2 separate regions of the Homo sapiens genome follow, and region 1 is linked to region 2. The links are contacts of gene promoters, found by promoter capture Hi-C in blood cells and fetal thymus (Javierre and others, 2016). All regions are on one chromosome and are shown on one strand. The core of a region is centred on a gene start or on the middle of the fragment in contact, and the rest is flanking DNA. Distances in the headings are between cores, read along the strand shown. Region 1 overlaps NUP37 (nucleoporin 37). Region 2 holds the start of GNPTAB (N-acetylglucosamine-1-phosphate transferase subunits alpha and beta).

What was found. Contacts are between HindIII fragments. The CHiCAGO score rates a contact against its expected background, and 5 or more counts as called.
Region 1: a contact is called between a fragment that was not itself captured here and the fragment with the promoter of GNPTAB in region 2, in 1 of 17 cell types (neutrophils). The highest score is 5.3, in neutrophils.

Annotation. Positions count from the first base shown.
Region 1 is chr12:102,094,842-102,098,111 of GRCh38, forward strand. All of the region lies in intron 5 of NUP37 (nucleoporin 37), which reads right to left. Among named protein-coding and RNA genes, the nearest start is that of NUP37, 24 kb to the right of the region's middle. The HindIII fragment of the contact is 1,964 bases long and covers 356-2,319 here.
Region 2 is chr12:101,829,604-101,833,295 of GRCh38, forward strand. It overlaps GNPTAB (N-acetylglucosamine-1-phosphate transferase subunits alpha and beta), which reads right to left and starts at 1,356. Exons shown (of 21, transcript NM_024312.5): 1 at 956-1,356. The coding sequence starts at 1,072. RefSeq lists silencers at 488-782, 1,139-1,538. The HindIII fragment of the contact is 15,537 bases long and covers 1-3,692 here.

The DNA of each region.
Region 1 (3,270 bases), core at 88-2,587, 270 kb after region 2:
TGGCACATTATATGCACACCTATATTTTATTAAACTAAAAATTCCCTGGTTTCTAGAAGTCAGTTTTCTTTCACCATAAACTTTTATCTAATATTTTAAAAGATTATTGAGGGATGAGGAGGAGGGATGGGATTTACTACTGATATCCTTTGTAGTTACAGTGCGTACTAGGTCTTGTATTTCTTTTGTATCCCCCAAAGTACTGAATATTGGGTATACTAAATGTGTTTAATAAATACTTGTTGATCTGACTTGTTCTTACAGAATGGTACTGTTTCTAATATACAAGAACATCTGTTATTTGGCAATGACTGGGAATGAGATGTTCTGTATTAGTGAGTTTTAAAAAATAATAAGCTTAACCCACTAAATACTTAAATGACACTTTTACCTTCTTTTGGAGGAGGAGATAATAATTTTTTCTAAATGAATATGCACTTCTTTACCTCTCAAATACTGTAATAATTTTAGCCTTCTTTCAATGACACTAGGTCATAACTATGAACGTATTTATATTTTTCTGTGCATATGCATATACAAACACACACATAAAGCATCAGTATTTTTATCAACCTGTGTATATATGTGTGCATATATTTTTATATATACATGTATATGCATGTGAGTGCATCTGCATATGGTAGACATGATGAGGGATCATAAAGAAAATGGTGTAGAATATAAGGCTGAATGACTAGCAACCCCATGCTTTACTTGGGAATTTCTTTTATTAAACACATCTATCAGACGCTTGCTTTTTGTTTCAGTAATGGCACCTTTTTCATAAAGATACATATTTCTTCATCAAGATATATACTTGTCATACTTTTCATACAGAAAATATTGCAAGAATATTATCTTACTTTTTCAACTTGACATCCTATGATTTATCTTGCTATGTTATTCCTATTTTGATTACCTGTATTTCCCTATTTCTCTAATGAGATTTAATTTCATTGTATTACTACTAACATGAGCTTTTATCCTAAAACTGTAGATCTGCTCAGCGCTATGACACTGTAGAACTCCAGATGGCACTATTTACATTATACTCTACACAACTCATAAATCTCTACAACTGTGCAACTTGACTGCCTTGCCTCTGCCTTACATTTTCATGTTATCTTATTTTTCTGATATCCAGTCTTACTCATTGTAAAGAAGAAGAAAGACTACCTATGTCTTCATATGTAGTTGTTATCTGAGCTTATACACAATGCATTATTATTCTCTTTGTTTTCCTTTTATAGAATATATCATAAAATTAAGGGACGATAATAATTTTCTGTACTTATATATTTGGAAGGCTACATTTTCTGTGAGTTTCATTTAAAAAGGTGTGGTAGGCATTATAAAATGTTTGTTAGAAAGGCAGTGTTGGAACTGATAAAGACCAACTTTAATGAGAACCCAATTTTCTTATAAACTTGCACAGATCATAGAATAGTAAAATTAGATGGAGTCTTAGATAAAATGTAATCTATCATCTTCCATAATAACATTTTGTATTATCAGAGGTACCTTTGTTCACAGTACGACTCTTTATTCTGTTTGATTCAGAATTTGGCAATTTTCAATACAACACATACATTTCATGAACCTATTCAGGTCACAGATTGTTTTAAAATAGTGTTCCTAGGGCAAAATTCTGCTAGCTGATTATAATATAGTGTCTTTCTTGGAAATGTCAAAGTGAAACATCAGAAAATATGCATAGATCAAAATATTGAGGTTATTTTAAATTTTCTTAAGTAAGCACTGGGTCTGCTCTTTACAGTACAGAATACATATTGTAGAACTGCTCATATGATATACTCTCTTGTCACATATGTGATAATGTAAGAATATATATGTGATATTGTAAGAATCTTACATTATCACATATGTCCTCTTAGAATTCCTTCTTTCCTTGCTATGAGAGTGTATGATACTATCTACTCTTTCTCATTTTAAACTTGTTTTTATATACGTTCTGTTTTTAAAAAAATCTTACCTATATTGCTTAGGTTTTGGCCTAAGAGGTTTGGCTTTAATAACCAATCAGAGTTGTTTATTTTTGGTTGGTGAACTAAGCTGTAAATTCTAAAAATACTCCTAGTTTGATGTTGTGCATCAACCCGAAAATCTCGGTGGTTTACAGAAATAAGCATAAATTTCTTGCACATGGGTCTATGGGAAGCTCTGTTTCCATAATGCCATATGGGTCCATATCTGCTCCACGTGTTTCTCATTCTGGGATCAGTAGCTATCTAGGACATGCTCATCTCATAGCAAATGACAGAGCACAGGAGGTCAAGTCAAGCCAGGCAAAACATTTGAAGCTTCTGCTGTGTCACACCTGTTAATGCTACATTGGCCTAAACAATTCACAAAGCTAGGGCTAATTAGATGGGAAAATCTCCTTTCATGGGAAGGTGAAAGGAAAGCAAATATTTGTTGAACAATAATATCAACAACCAGTCTGGCAAAATGAGAAACTTAGAGGCAATGTAGTCAGGTTTTTAAAAAATTAAATTTATTTAAACTAAAAGACTTACTCTTTAGTTATTCCTTTCCTACTTTTTAGAGTAATAATGTCCTTTCTTTTACAAAATGATAGTGGTAGAAGGCAGTAAACTTAAGTCTTATATTCGACAAAATAAAAAGTTAGCAACCCTATGTCAGTCCCCTAAATTTTTAGAGAATTTTGCTAGTTTACAAAAAAAATCTCAGAGTCATAAGAAAACAAACAAACAAAAACATAGACTACTGAGTGTGATCCTAGGTCTCTCCGGCTTTCGTTCACTATTCAGAGGCCATTCCTTGGCTTGCAAAGACACTCATTTTTCCCCTTTGCAGGTTTCATTATTCCAAATGCTTGTGATTAGGAAAATCTATGTTTTAAAGAGCTGAAATGCCATTATTTATTTCCAGTGACCGAATTTTTACCTTAAAACGATTCCATTTACTCTTCAGGTCACTATACAAACTTGGTTTTGTAGTACCTGGGGCCCTAGAATCTTAATGTCATGTAAATCTTTCATATCTCTGACATGAAAATTTTAACAGGCAGTACATAAAGAATAATGGCCTATGACTCTATCACTTTAAAAAGATGAGCTATATTAAGAAGATTAAAAATTTAAAAAGTAGCTAGCAGCTTTACTTCTAATGTGAAGTCATACATATTTCATAGTTTTATATGTACATAAGTACTAATAAATACTAAGGATTTTGGCATAGTTTTATGAAACATTATGCAAAACAGCAGAGCAGCAGTTTTTCTCTCCC
Region 2 (3,692 bases), core at 106-2,605:
AGCAATAAGGCACCTAACTACACACAGATACATTAAGTTGCAACACATGAAACAAAGACGAGCAAGTACTATAATATTAAGTACATATTTCACACTTACAAATCTGGAGCTTTCTCACCCTTATGGTAAGACATTTTTTCCCAGCCTCTAGAACCAAGAACTACTAAAAAAGTACATGCTCAGAATTCATGCCATATAATTTAGCCATTAAACAAACACTTGCACTGCATTCTCTGGCAGTACCTGGCACTGTGCTTGGGCCAGGGTTACAGTATTTACAGACAGCACCTTCTCTTACGGAGCTTACAATCCAGCATGGGTAAAGACTTCAAGCAAATGTATACTGTGGCATTTCTAAAAACTACTCTGTTAAATTTTAAAACCTTTTGTAACCTCCTACCAAAAAAAAAAAAAAAAAAGAAAAAGAAAAAAACTAAAACTAAGGAACAGATTTCAAACCACTTAAAAATACAGCTTTCCTCCCCGTTGCTAAAAGTGGCTTTCTTGGGCCAGGTGCGGTAGCTCATGCCTGTAACCCCAGCACTTTAGAAAGCCAAGAAGGGAGGATCACTTGAGCCCAGGACTTCCAGACCAACCTGGGCAACATAGGGAGACCTCCGTCTCTATTTTTAAAAAACGGTGGGCGAGGGAGCAATATCTAAAATCACATACATGCCTTTTTCCAGTTCTGACTTGCTCATAGTCTCTGCACACGTTTATGATAAAGAATACTGTATTTGGCCGGGAGCGGTGGCTCACGCCTGTAATCCCAGCACTCGGGGACGCCGAGACAGGGCGATCGCCTGAGCTCAGGAGTTCGAGACCAGCCTGGGCAACATGGCAAAACCCCGTCTCTAATAATGAAAAAATACATACTGTATCGGGGCATCGCGGGGCACGGCGAGGGCAGTGCAGGGTCGAGGCGCCCGGTCCAGGCTGCGGCGCCGCTACTCACCTCTCCGAACTGGAAGGCGGAGACGATGGTGACAACGACGCCCAAGAAGCACACGTAGAGCCCATACCTGTGGGACAGGCAGGTATAGGTCTGTCTCTGCAGGAGCTTGAACAGCATCACCCCTTCACCGCCACGCCACGCCCCGAGGAGCCTGAGCCGCCGCCGCCGCCGCCGCCGCCTCAGCGAGCCGCCATTCAGGGGCCCCGGTCGGGCCGCCGCGCGCAGGTCACAGCCTCCGGGCGCCGCTCATTGCAGCTCCGGCGACGGACGCCCGCTCGGCTCCGCGCCGCGGCCGCCGCTTCCGGGAGCCGGGAGCCCACGCCCTCGGCGCGGCGGAGGCGGACCTGCGGCCGGCGAGGCGGCCGGCGCCGCCCGGGTCTGGCCGGGCGAGAGGCGGCTGCGGCGGCGGCGGGGTCTCCAGCGCCACCTGGAGGACGGAGGGGCATAGGGAAGGTGCGCGCCCTCCCCACCTGCGCTTGCGCAGCGGGCCCTGAGGGCTGGGCTGGGAGGGGCGGAGCTGAGCTGGGATCCACTTACCCGGTTGGGCAGGCGACCAAGAGAAAACTGCCCCCTGCGTCGAGACTGTGCCATAGACGGTACTATAATGCCATGAATATTTTTGTGCATAAAACCTTCTCTGCACTTAGCATTCTCTGCAGAGTGCTAAAAGGAGATGCTGTATGTGGCTCCTTTCCTCCAACCCCCAACTATATTGTTTGAAAGAGGAAACCTTTGGGTTAAATCTGCCAAAACCGAATTTCGTTCATTCATTTAGTCGTTAAATATGTAATTTGTGCCTGTTAGGTGGCATAGTGCTTGGTGTCAGGTATTCAAAAATGAACTAGACCTGGCTACTGTTCTCAGAGAGTCTAGTGGGGGAGATAAACATGTAAACCACTAAATACAAGAGTTGTTATGATAGAAATCATGCGATGAACTGGAGGGGAACCAGCTCAGGGGTGGCCAGGTAATCCGACTTTGACAGCAGGTTTTTCCCACGAGATCCTTTCCTTGGTGCCTCTGATTTACGAAAGGGAGATCTTTTTCTTAATCCCAATGCACCCTAGTCAATAAGATTTTTTTCCTAGTCACCCTGGGAAACAATACACTTATCTAATGTTGCCATCATTCAAAGCATTTTTAAAAATATCTTGGGAACCAGCTTCAGGAAATACTCAAATTCGCACCCTCAGTTTGATGGTCAGGTGGAATTAACAGACTTGCAAAAGGGGTTAGCTTCACTCCAATCCAAGGCAAGATTTTTTACACTTTGCAGTCACTTCTTTTAATCCTTCTTTTAAAAAAGATGATTGATATATGCTATATGTACATGGCAAAAGATTATTGCAGTTGTACAAGACACATATAGTTCTGAGGTCTTTTCAAGCATGATAACAGATCTGAGGACTTAATCAGAAGGGGTAAAAAAGCATGGTAACAGATATAAAAACATCTGCCACTCAACAGGACTCTCAGGATAATGGCCAACATTTATGTAGCATCTGCCATGTGCCCAGCTCATCTAATCCTCACAATAATCTTATAATGGAGATACCATTATTATCCCCATTCTACAGATCAAGAAACTGTGATGAAAAAAAGTAACTATCTAACATCACACAAATAGTAAATGACAGAATTGAGATTTGAACCAGGTACTTAGGCTGTAGAACAGGGCCAAGATTAGGGGAAGGTACTGTGAAATGAGTCATGCAAGTTTGGAGTGAGATTCTGTCTTTGTTTATAGTTTTGATATCGGGGCTGGGTGTGGTGGCTCATGCATGTAATCCCAATACTTTGGGAGGTCAATGTGGGAGGATAGCTTGAGCCCAGGAGTCTGGGAGCCCAGAAGTTTGAGACCAGCCTGGGTAACAGACCCTGTTCCTATTAAAATAAAAAAAAAATTTAAAACGTAAAATAAAACATAAAGTTTGGGTGTTTTGCTTTTCATGGATATTCTTCAGTAATGTTTTTTGTTTTTTTTGTTTTTTGGGTTTTTTTTTTTTTTTTGAGACAGAGTCTTGCTCTGTTGCCCAGGCTGGGTTGCAGTGGCGTGATCTCAGCTCACTGCAACATCCGCCTCCTGGCTTCAAGCAATTCTCCTGACTCAGCCTCCTGAGTAGCTGGGATTACAGGCACATGCCACCACCCCCGGCTAATTTTTGCATTTTTAGTAGAGATGGGGTTTCAGCATCTTGGTCAGGCTGGTCTTGAACTCCTGACCTCAAGTGATTCACCTGCCTTGACCTCCCAAAGTGCTAGGATTACAAGCATGAGCCACTGCGCCCAACCATTAATTTTGATTTTTTAAAAATATTGCATTAGGCTGGGCACGGTGGCTCACGCCTATAATCCCAGCACTTTGGGAGGCTGAGGCGAGTGGATCACCTGAGGTCAGGAGTCTGAGACCAGCCTGACCAACATGGAGAAACCCCATCTCTACTAAAAATACAAAATTAGCAGGGCATGGTGGCACATGCCTGTAATCCCAGCTACTCAGGAAGCTGAGGCAGGAGAATCACTTGAACCCGGGAGGCAGAGGTTGCGGTCAGCCGAGATCGTGCCATTGCACTCCAGCCTGGGCAACAAGAGTGAAACTCCATCTAATAAAAAAAAAAAAAAAAATATATATATATAGCATTAAAATATTATTCCTCTTGATTAGTGAGTTTTTTGGAGTTCCCTCGGATTTTCCACCCAAGACAAGTGCTTCACTGTCCTCACTTTAGTCCTAGCC